Regions from separate parts of the Homo sapiens genome. Here regions 1, 2 and 4 are each linked to region 3. Evidence: promoter capture Hi-C in 16 types of primary human blood cells and fetal thymus (Javierre and others, 2016). All regions are on one chromosome and are shown on one strand. The core of a region is centred on a gene start or on the middle of the fragment in contact, and the rest is flanking DNA. Distances in the headings are between cores, read along the strand shown.

Region 1 (2,700 bases), core at 13-2,512, 420 kb before region 3:
CCAGTGTCAGGAGGACAAGCTACCAGGATAATTATGCTCTATGAGGCAAACTTTGACTCTGGGGCCTGGAAACCCAGAAGCCATTGATTAGTCAATAGCAATCTAAACAATGCACTCATAAAGCCAGGGAATGCAAATGTGGCTGGGGCTCTCAGGAGGGCACTGGTGGTCATGAGAACAGGGTGGCATCTGTCCTGAGCAGGATCGGGACAGCAGGTGTGGCCCCAGTCTGCTGGGCTCTGCAGCCCCCACCTCTGCTCCTGCCCTGTCCCAGCAGCCAGGCATGGCCCCGCCTCTGTGGGGCCCTCTTTTCTCCAGGGAAGCCGGCCACCCAGGCCTTGACCCTTTTCAACCCTGTCCCCAGGCCCATCACTCCTCATTTATCCTTCTTAGAGATACTTAAGACATCAACAGCAGGACTGGGATGTGTTTACGAAAAGAACCCAAATCCTAGCTCAAGCCACAGGCACAAAGTACAGCCCAACAGACAGGGAAGGGGCAGGGCAAGGGAGTGTGACCCTGGCGGCAGCTGGAGAAGGCACTGCTGGAGTATGTCCAGGAGGAGCTCGCCAGTGCCAGGGCAATGGGACAGGAAGGGCAAGCCAAGTCCGAGCCCAGGGAATGTAAAGGAAACAGCAGCCATGTTTCCTTTACGTCGTCTTGGTATTTCCAAGCAGCTCCGCATAAAATCTTTGCGCACACACACACATGCATGCTCACTCTCTCTCTCTCTCTCTCTCTCTCTCTATCTGCCTGATAGTTTCCTTCAGGTCTGGATTCTACGTCTGACCTTTGTCCTGGCAAGCTTGTCCTCCCCTCCAGCCTGCCAGGGGCACACTCTGCATGCTCATTTTTATACTCCAAGGTCTTTAACTTCAAAAGGAGGCGGGGGACAATCTAGAAAGCTGGCCAAAGTGAGATGCAACAGAGGGTTCCAGAGACAGCCACCGCCCAATGCAGGGCCTGATCTGCAGGCTGCACTGGCCCCATGACCGCAGCCCTCCCTGCAACTGGGGCTCACCCACTCCCTGCACAGCACCCCTACGGGCCAGGCAGCACTGGGTAAGAGGGAGGAGGGGAGGCCCCGAATCAGGGTGACTCTGCCCAGCTTCAAACACTCCCACACACCAGAAGGGCTCACCTTTGAATGCCACCTCCCAGCGACCTTCCAAGGAGCGGTTCCGGCCAGTGATAACATACTGATAGCCAACCCACAACCTGCAGGGCACAGAGACAGAGACAGAGATCTCAGCGGCAGGAGGGATGCAACCATCAATGACTGTGTGTTTTTTGTTTTTTGAGACAGAGTCTCGCTCTGTCACCAGGATGGAGTGCAGTGGTGCGATCTCGGCTCACTGCAACTTGACTTCCTGGTTCAAGCAATTCTCCTGCCTCAGCCTCCCGAGTAGGTGGGATTACAGGCACAGGCCACCACGCCCAGCTAATTTTTGTATTTTTTTTTTTTTTTTTAGTAGAGACGGGGTTTCACCATATTGGCCAGGATGGTCTCGATCTCCTGACCTCATGACCCACCCGCCTCGGCTTCCCAAAGTGCTGGGATTGTTTTTTAATAGCTATACTGACCTCCACAACACTGAGCTTCTAACATGAGACACTCATGTTAGAATGCATTAAAATTCAAAACAAGAAAGTTCACAGGGCAGGAAAAGTTTTATCTCAGGGAACTCTTGCCAAGACTGTTTCTATGAGCTAAACCGGTAAAGCTTTCACAATTTAAGCAAGAACAATCTTATTCTTGGTAGACATGAAACCCCATGAATACAACTCGGTGACTATGCTAAAACCATAGGACAGGGCACTCCACAGGGGAGATTTTCATGGCATGTGAACTGCATCTCAATAAAGACATAAGTCCCTGCAAATATCCACTACCATGGGGGCTGAAAACACTTGCACGGCTTCCCACTCAGAGCCAGCCCACCTCAGGCCTGCAGCCTGCTCCTGAGCATGCAGGCCTAGCACTGAAAGGACCTTGCACTGGCATCTGGCTGACCGCCATAAGCTCCTGCCTAGTCCATGTCCCTTGGCCCAGCTTTCCAGCCCCAAGCCTAGAGATGCCCATCAGCAGGTCTCCCCGCATGGCAGGAGCCCAGGGATGGCACACTCTGCCCTATGCTGTGCAACCACAAGGCTGTCCTCAGAGATGGGGCTGCCCTGCCCTCCGGGCTATACCCTCTTGCTTCTCCACTGGACTCACAGGCCTGTCCTCATGGGGTTAGTACAACAACCTGTGAGCTAAGAGTTAGTTTCCTCCCTTTGTAGCTGCAGAAGGAAAAACAACTCCGTCTTGTGATTTGCCAAACTCTCACAGGGCATAACTGTGGAGTCAAAACCCAGCTTGGGTCTTGAAGCGAAGGCCCCCTTGCTTTCTTGGGGGGAACCCCCACCTACACTGCACACCCCTTGCACAAGGCCCACGAAGCCCCACACCAAGCAGTTCTCCCCACACAAGCCAGCACCCCCAGCCCCCTGCCTGCGCTCAGCAACTGCACTTGTACAAGGAGAGGGGTACCAATGAAAGGGGCTGCCCCACAGTCCCACAAAGTAGCAGCAGAGTCCAGCCTGCCCCTGCTCCCAGGACCCTCCACCTATCTCGATGCACACTCCTACCCATGGATCTCCTGGGCTTCCAGTGGGCGAGGCTGGTCTTCCCAACCTGCTGTCTGCCAGCTGTGCTCC
Region 2 (2,700 bases), core at 148-2,647, 400 kb before region 3:
GTAACTGCTAATTGAGGGATTACTGTGTGCTACATTCTTGTCTAATCCCTTTATATGTAGCATGTAATGTAATCCTCACAACAACCCCAAGTGACAGGCACTATTATTTTCTCCATTTTATGGATGCAATTTGCCCAAAGGATCACAGCCAGTAAGTGGTGAAAGCAGGGGAGCAGCCCCAGTCCCTGGCTCAAGCCCCCACATTTAACCACGATATGACATACAGCAGAGCTGGCTGCCTCAGGCCACTTTGCTGTGGCCCTTCTGGTCTGGTGTGCTTTGTTCAGACTCTGGCGAATATCCACAGTGGATGTTTTCTTCTAGATCTGGTCAGCACTGGTTGTCTTTCATCATAAGAGGAAGGTGACCCAGCTAGCCAGAGGCTCTAGTGAGCCTAGTGGGCTAGACGCTTGTCAGGGACCACGGTGGGAGAGCTAGTCTTTCAGTTGGAAACCTTCCATTATGTTGACACTTTTCTACCTCTTGTATGAAGTGCCAGTGTCTCTAGAAAAGACTCCTCCAATCTCCTGTCTGGGAAAACACCTGGCTGCTGACATCTGGAGAGCAGGGCAGAAGACAGGCCTGAGCATCCTACTTATTACCTACTTGTCACTACAGAGAATTTCTCTTAATTCCTCTATTTTCAACCTCCACGACTCCCCTCTGTTGTACCTGGTGTCACTTATTTTGCAGACTTTAAGTGCTGTCTAATAGAAACACAATGCAAACCACATTTCAACAAGTAGAAACAAACATGAAATTAATTTTAATACTTTATCTAACCCAATATATTCAAAATACTATTACTGCAACATGGAAACAATATAAAGAAGTATTCATGGGATGTTTTACATTCTTTTTTTGTACTAGGTCTTTCCTATTTGGTGTGTATTTTACACCTGCTGCACATCTTCCTTCAAAACAGCCACATGTGACTCATGGCTACTACACTGGACAGTGTTGGTCTAGAAAATCAACTCCTGCGGGGCACAGTGGCTCATGCCTGTAATCCCAGCACTTTGGGAGGCTGGGGGCAGGATTGCTAGAGCCCCGGAGTTCAAGACCAGCCTCAGCAACAGGGCGAGACCTCGTCTCTACAAAAAATTTAAAAATTAGCTGGGCATGGTGGTACACGCCTGTAGTCTCAGCTACTCAGGAGGCTGAGGTGGGAGGATCGCTTGAGTCCAGGGGTTTGAGGTTGCATTCAGCTGTGGTTTCACCACTGTACTCCAATGGGCAACAGAGCAAGACTCTGTCTCAAAAAAAAGAAATGAAACCCCACATCTTATGGTAGCAGAAAGAGTCACCCAGTGATGGAAAGTGAAGAAGGGAATGCGAGTGCCAAGAGAATTCCACCAATCCCTATCCCACTCCCATGCCTATGCCTGATGCCTGCCACCCTTGGCACTCAGAGCCTTCAAGCGCTGAGCCTTTCTGGGAGGCTGCTGGGCAAACTGCTTATTTCTTGTTGTTCTCACTCAAGCAGGCCCATGGTTGCAGCTGCTCTGCTACACCAGGTCAGTTTAACTCTCCCATTGGCTTTTCTTTGGAAAGGAAAAAAGCTGTATAATATGTGAAACATTTCAAAGAATGTATGTAGCACACATGTAAGATTCATAAGCCTAATAATATAGTTGTGAGCGACCTCCCCACACCCCATTTAGGAAATCAAGCATTATTTTGCTTCTCCCAGTCTTATATCCCTCTGTCTCTCCACCAGGAACTAGAATTTTGTGTATCACTGCGCTTATTTTTTTCTTTTAGTTTACCACATGTGTATGTATCTATAAGTAATATAACGATCTGTTTTGCTTCTCTATATTGTGCCATATGTCGTTTTTAGCAACTTGCTTTTAGCTGACGTTCTGTTTTCAAGATTCATCCATGTTGCTGCATAAACCTAACATTCACTTACTGTTGCTGGTGTATAACATTCCATCATGTGAGCACAGACATTTGGGTTGTTTCCAAGACATGTATCAATGGCAAAAATTAAGATGTCTGACAAAACCAAGAGTTGGAGAGGATGTGGATGGCTTGGAATTTTATCTGCTCCTTTACACCCACTCTGGAAAAACTGTACAAACAATTCTGCAAGGATTTTTCCAGAGTTTCCCTAAATAGAAATCCTGGATCACAGAAAATAAGAATGTTCAGCTTTGCAAGATAATGTCTCTATTCCAGAGTGGGTGTAAAGAAGCACATAAAATTTCCACACTATCCATATCTTCTCCAACATTTTAATTTTTGCCAGTCTAAGCATCTGTAAAGTGGTATCTCACTGTATGTAGTCTTAGAATACTAACGAGGTTAAATTTAAATGTCTTTTTCTATGTTTAATCACCATCTACGAAATGCTTTATAGGAGTTCTTTATATACACTGAATTAGAATCCTTATCCTTTACAGGCTGTAAGTGTTGCAAATATCTTCTCTCTACTCTAGCTTGTCTTTTCACAGTCTTTACTGGTGTTTTTTGGGGTTTTTTTTGTTTTTTTTTTTTTGAAACAGGGTCTCACTCTGATGTCCAGTGGTGTAATCTCGGCTCACTGCAGCCTTGACCTCAGGGACTCAGGTGATTCTTCCCACCTTAGCCTACTGAGAAGCTGGGACTACAAGTGTGTACCACCACATCTGGCTAATTATTTCTTTTTTTTTTTTTTTTTTTTTTTCATAGAGACAGGATTTCACCACGTTGCCC
Region 3 (2,700 bases), core at 192-2,691:
GCTTCCAAAGGGATTGTAGGGATTAAAAGAAATAAGCCGCGATGAGGGAGTACAGGTGTTAAAAGCTGTGTAACAGGAAATGTACCAGCAGGTATTAGCTTCCATCGTTATCATTACCGAACACAACACCGCTGTACAGATTCGAAGGCACGAACCCGTAGGCACGGAGCTCACGGAGCTGGGGCAAGAGCTGGGTGTCCCCCAAGAGCGGGGGATGCCCACTACGGATTCTCCCTGGGGAGCGCCCTGATTCTGTTCCCATCCCCAGCAACCTTGCAACTAACTTTGGGTTTATGGAAACCTGTTGCGCGTCCAGCACTTGGGAAACCCGTGAATGGACACAAACCTTCCTTTCTTTCGTCAAGGAGGGCAAGTCCGGCTGAGACAGAATGCGAGCCACGTTCAGGACCGGCGGACGCGACCACAGGCGGTTAGTGGTCAAGGGTCCTGCTTGTGCCCGGTGCGGCCGATGAGCCTGCAGGCCGGACTCAGGCCCGGGTGACTCGGCACCTCCGCCGCCGTCCCGCCCCGCCCTGCCCCGCCGGGCCCTACCTCAGGCCCCGGGCCAAGGCCCAGCCCCCGCCCGCTGCCCGTCAGCGCTTACCATGATGGACACCACCTGGCAGACTCCGCTCCTCTCAGGCAATGCAACGAAGAAACCCCGCCGACCGCTCTCCCAGCCGCCGCTGCCGCTGCCGCCGCGCCAAGCCGGTACGCCCCAGAGGCTCACCGGAAGTGCCGGACCCGAGACCCGGAGGGGGGGTGCCCGGGACAAAGCGTCGGCTGCAAAAGAGAAAAGGCCAGGCGAAGACGCTAGGCTCTAAAACACCCTCAGTAGAAGCATTAAAATGCCCTTTCGTGATTTATTTCCCCTTTTATAGGTATTTTTAAACGTTATTTTAAATTACGTGTTGACAGTATTCCCCTCCAGACGAATTTAGTAGGGCCCATTGTCCTTACGACTACACTACCCACAATGCACTACCCAGACTGCCTCTGCTTCAGCCATCGAGGACTCGGGCGGAACTAAGCTACAAATCCTTCTTCAAACCACACCAAAAACCTATTGCAAACGTAAATGCTGCCCCATTGGGTATGTGACTGAGTTTAATGTATGGTTAGAAGTATACTTTCCCTGAGGGTTCCCAGTGGGAGGCAGTAGGCTTCTCTTCCCAAAGTAAAGATGTCCGCCCAGCGTCGCTTTTCTGGGTAAAAGCGAGTCAGAGTTGAAGGGGGCAACAGTGTTTGCGTTCGGCCTCAGAGGTGACGCTTCTTTGGGGGCGGGCTGGAGTTTTCTGGCCGTGAATGGCAGAGCGCTAATGGCCGCCTCCAATGTGGCCCAATCAGAAAGAAAGGAAGGCTGGGAACTAAGAAGCTATTGGTTGGTGATCCCTGGACCAATCGGAGGAGCCGTGATTTGGCGGGAGTCTTGACCGCCGCCGGGCTCTTGGTACCTCAGCGCGAGCGCCAGGCGTCCGGCCGCCGTGGCTATGTTCGTGTCCGATTTCCGCAAAGAGTTCTACGAGGTGGTCCAGAGCCAGGTGACGCCCAGTCCGGGACCCCCGCCGAGGCCTTGCCGGTGGGGAAGGGATGAGGGGGAGCGACCGTGGGTGACCGGGAGGCAGGGGAGGGCCGGGGTTCGGGTCGCCGTGTTCAGCCGGTCTGCTCTTCCCCGATAGAGGGTCCTTCTCTTCGTGGCCTCGGACGTGGATGCTCTGTGTGCGTGCAAGATCCTTCAGGTGAGTTCTGCGGACCCTAGGAGGGCGGGGCCGGCGCGCGAGGTGAGGGTGCTGCGTGGGGGCGCAGGGCGGGCAGAGTGTCAGGATGGGTGCTGAGGGCTTAGGGTGGGAGAGGGAGCAGGGCAGGAGGTGAACAGCAAGTGAGAGGAGAGAGACTCGGAGGAGAGGTTGCCTCCCTGTCCCAACGGTGTGGGGTGGGATAAAGGATTAAGTAAAAGGTAAAGAGACTAGTTTGTATTTTTGCAATAAGCTATTAATATTAATAGGTGAACACAGCAGTTGCATTTGGGGGAAACTTTGGATCTGTCGTGGCCTCTCAAATGGGGGATTTGAGAGAGAGGAATCTGTGACAACTGTGGGTATAGTCGTGTCACAGGTGTTGCTGGGAATATGGGAGCCCCTAGTCTATTAGGGAAGATCGTTAGTTTGGTTTTGAATAGGGCATAGTATTTACGTTGTTTTGGTCAGGCCCTTGGATCAGGAACTTTTCAGAAGGCCTGGAAGTTAAATCGGCATTTCTCCCCGATGTTTTACTTTGGTAATTTGCAAAATTCACAGAATGGTATGGTAAACGCTCATATCCCTAGCACCTAGCTTTTCCCGTAAGCATTTCACTAGCTTTAATGTTATCCCGTGTCTTTTGTCTCTCAACCCGTCTAATCTTCCTCAGTTTCTTTTCAAGGTAAATTGCTAATGTCCTAAATAAGATAGGCTTTGAAAACACTCTCTCTCCAGGCCTTGTTCCAGTGTGACCACGTGCAATATACGCTGGTTCCAGTTTCTGGGTGGCAAGAACTTGAAACTGCATTTCTTGAGCATAAAGAACAGGTATTGAAGATGCGTTTTAGAATAACGTGGCTTTTTACTCAATTGTAATTTCTTGACACAGCATTCTATTTCCACGATAGATTAAGCGTGTATTTAAGTATCAGCTACATTAGGCAATATGGAAGAGAAAAAC
Region 4 (2,700 bases), core at 53-2,552, 300 kb before region 3:
TTTATGTTTGCTGCTCTTTTCCAGTTTTGGCAGTGAAGGTGTCATTTTGTTTTCTGCTTTATAAAAGTATTTTTTAAAGACTTTAAGGCTGCCTTTAGCATAGACTCAGCCTCCACGGGTGGCCCTTCGTGGCAGGCGTCCTGCCCCAGGGCCCCGCGGTCACCCCGCCGGCCTTCCCTGGCGTCCAGGAGACCCTCCCCAGCTTGCCGGTTGCCCCGGGAGCACCGGGCCAGCGGGGCCGCCCGTCTCCGTACTCCCTGCGTGTCCGGGGTCCTCGCCAGGACCTTCCCCACCTTGATGGTCTCCATGGGGCACACGACCACCACGGCCTCGGCCACGCCAGCGCCCAGGCCGCACAGCAGCCCACGCGTGCTGTCCAGCCGTCCCTGGGCATCCCGCATGTGGTTGCTGAGGAACTCGAACATTCCAAACCTGGAGGCGGGAGGCGGGTGAGAGGGGCTGCCGCGGCCGAGCCCCCCTCCCGCAGCAGCCACCGGCCGGGCCTCACCTGACGGCCGCCTTGGGGATGGAACCGTAGAGCAGGGAGCTAAGGCCGCGGTACAGGCCCAGGACGCCATGGCTGCGAACCGTCTGCCGCACGCAGTCCCCTGGGGGAGGGGGCGGTCAGGACCCCACGGCCCTCGGTGCCGCCGCCCTGGGTACCCGCCCCCCGCGGCGCCGCGGCCTCCCCCTCCTCACCGATGCCCCGGTACCGCGGCGGGTGCGAGCGCTCGTCCAGCTGCAGCTGCGTCTTCACGTACTCGGTGGGGAAGGTGATGCAGATCTCGATGCCACCCGCCAGGCCGCCTGCAGGGACCGGGAACCCGCTCCTGAGACTCCCGCCCGGCCGCTGGCGCTCGGGCCCCTCCCCCGTCCCGGACTTCGGTCGGCGCGGCCGCCGCGCCAGTGCCGCGGGGAACATAGGCTGGGGCCCCACGCCCCCATGCCCTCACCCCGTTGTCCCGGCGAGGCGCAGGGGGTGACAGACGGGAGGCGGGCGAGTCCCAGCGCGCCGGGTGGGGACCAGGACCGCGCCTCCACGACTCCCCAGCCCACGGCCCAACCCGGAAGTGGGGCGGGGCCTCAGCGTCCCGGGCCCACCCAGAAGCGCGGCGGGAGAGGGGTCCGCGTCCCGGAGGGGCCCACCTGCCAGGATCGCCTTCCCCGGGTGCGTCAGCTTGGCCTTCCCGGACGCGGGCGCGGCGGCCGCCAGAGCGCGCGGGGCGCGGGGCGCGGGCATGGCGGGCGGGAGGCGGGGCGCCCTGTGGCGGCTTCGGGTCCGAGACTCCAGAACTCCGCGCTCGGTCCGCGGTGGCGGCGGCGGCCGGTTATGGTCCCAGGGGCGGGGCGGCCGCGTCAGCTCCAGGTCCCGCCCCGCGTGGTCCGAGCCAGGCCCCGCCCCCAGCCCGCCCCGTGCGGGCCGGGAAACTGAGGCCTGGGCGGGGCGCGCCGAGGCAGGCGTAGGGGCGGGGCCAAAGCGCAGCCAATGGCCGAGGCCGAGTCCCTGGGCGACCGCGAGCGGCGGGACGGGGGCGGGGCTGCGGGAGGCGGAGCCGTGGCCCAGCTCCGAGCAGTGGGTCAAGGTGCACTGTGTGCCGCGCCGCGGGATAGCGGGCCTCGGGTCTGCGCGACTGTCGAGAGCGGCGGGATCCCCAGGGATCCCGGAGGCCAGGGGCACACCCTCCCCGAAAACACGTGGGGCTAGCCCAGTCCCAGAGGAACTCTAACGTTTCAAACCTGGAGGCGGGAGGCGGGAGGCCGGTGAGAAGGGGCTACGCCGCCGGGCCCCCCTCCCGCAGCAGCCACGGGCCGGGCCTCACCTGCCGGTTCCCACCCACACCTTTCCCGGTTGTAGTTTCTGCGCTCAGCGAACAAGGTCAGGAAAGACCACAAATGCAAGCGGCTGTATTCTCCTAGGCAGCTTGTCTGGGCAACGGAGGTCCCACACCCCAAAGAGGACCCAGCAAATCTTTAATGGACTGCGGGGCCTAGGAAACTGGCCCGTCCCTCCTACCCATACCAGCACCAAGCAGAGCACCTTTGCCTGGATAAACCGACTTTAATATTTATGATTGCCAAGAGGCTGAGAGTCCTTTTATGAGGTCCGGTACCTCCAAACAAGACGTGTTCATGTAGTCTTCAAACTGGCCTGGAGGGGGCAGCTCCAGCCAGTCGGAGGCGCCCAGGAGGAAGGCCTGGCTCCAGCAGGAGGGCCCACAGTCCAGTCTCTGTTGTCGGCTAAAGCTGGTCTTGCGCCGTCAGCCTCTACCCTGGCCTCCCCAGGCTCTGGGATGGCTCAGAGGTTGCCGTCATTGGGTTTCAGCAAAAATAAATATTGTCCAGGTGTCCCTGCCTCCCATTGCGTCCCCTGTGCTGCTGGAGTGACATGCTCCTTGGAGAAGTTAGTAACTCTGCAGGTAGGGTGGGTGGTGACAACGCCCACTACACGCGGAAGTTGTACATTGGAGGCTGGCGAAGTTGGGAGCAGAGGCATATCCATAGGGGAAGCTGGCAGGGGCTGGGCCCACGGCAGGGCCTGCAGAGGGGGAAGCCCACAATGAGCAGAGCTCTTCCTGCCCATGGGGGTCCTCTCCTGGCTGCCCCTGAGTAGCCCGGGGCCCAGGGAGCAGGGTCTATAGGACCAGCCCTTACCACCCAGACGCTGAGGCCCCAAGAGAGCAGGCATCCAGAGGCAAGGAG

The links. Contacts are between HindIII fragments. The CHiCAGO score rates a contact against its expected background, and 5 or more counts as called.
Region 1: a contact is called between a fragment that was not itself captured here and the fragment with the promoter of CDC45 in region 3, in 3 of 17 cell types (naive CD8 T cells, naive CD4 T cells and non-activated CD4 T cells). The highest score is 5.5, in naive CD8 T cells.
Region 2: a fragment that was not itself captured here is called in contact with the fragment with the promoter of CDC45 in region 3 in 2 of 17 cell types (naive B cells and non-activated CD4 T cells); the score reaches 5.1 in naive B cells.
Region 4: the fragment with the promoter of SLC25A1 here is called in contact with the fragment with the promoter of CDC45 in region 3 in 8 of 17 cell types (naive B cells, total B cells, total CD4 T cells and 5 more); the score reaches 11.7 in naive B cells.

What each region holds. Positions count from the first base shown.
Region 1 is chr22:19,062,061-19,064,760 of GRCh38, forward strand. DGCR2 (DiGeorge syndrome critical region gene 2) reads right to left here. Exons shown (of 10, transcript NM_005137.3): 5 at 1,142-1,218. Among named protein-coding and RNA genes, the nearest start is that of DGCR11, 15 kb to the left of the region's middle. The HindIII fragment of the contact is 919 bases long and covers 804-1,722 here.
Region 2 is chr22:19,079,575-19,082,274 of GRCh38, forward strand. The region is part of intron 2 of DGCR2 (DiGeorge syndrome critical region gene 2); the gene reads right to left. Among named protein-coding and RNA genes, the nearest start is that of DGCR11, 33 kb to the left of the region's middle. The HindIII fragment of the contact is 4,630 bases long and covers 1-2,700 here.
Region 3 is chr22:19,478,479-19,481,178 of GRCh38, forward strand. CDC45 (cell division cycle 45) reads left to right here and starts at 1,442. Exons shown (of 19, transcript NM_003504.5): 1 at 1,442-1,541; 2 at 1,680-1,739; 3 at 2,475-2,567. The coding sequence starts at 1,491. It overlaps UFD1 (ubiquitin recognition factor in ER associated degradation 1), which reads right to left and starts at 715. Exons shown (of 12, transcript NM_005659.7): 1 at 605-715. The coding sequence starts at 607. RefSeq lists silencers at 482-551, 1,342-1,391 and an enhancer at 952-1,251. The HindIII fragment of the contact is 12,348 bases long and covers 1-2,700 here.
Region 4 is chr22:19,177,434-19,180,133 of GRCh38, forward strand. It overlaps SLC25A1 (solute carrier family 25 member 1), which reads right to left and starts at 1,303. Exons shown (of 9, transcript NM_005984.5): 1 at 1,147-1,303; 2 at 700-807; 3 at 509-608; 4 at 294-432. The coding sequence starts at 1,240. CLTCL1 (clathrin heavy chain like 1) reads right to left here. Exons shown (of 33, transcript NM_007098.4): 33 at 2,040-2,536. RefSeq lists silencers at 520-1,599, 1,800-1,899 and an enhancer at 601-1,348. The HindIII fragment of the contact is 6,402 bases long and covers 1-2,700 here.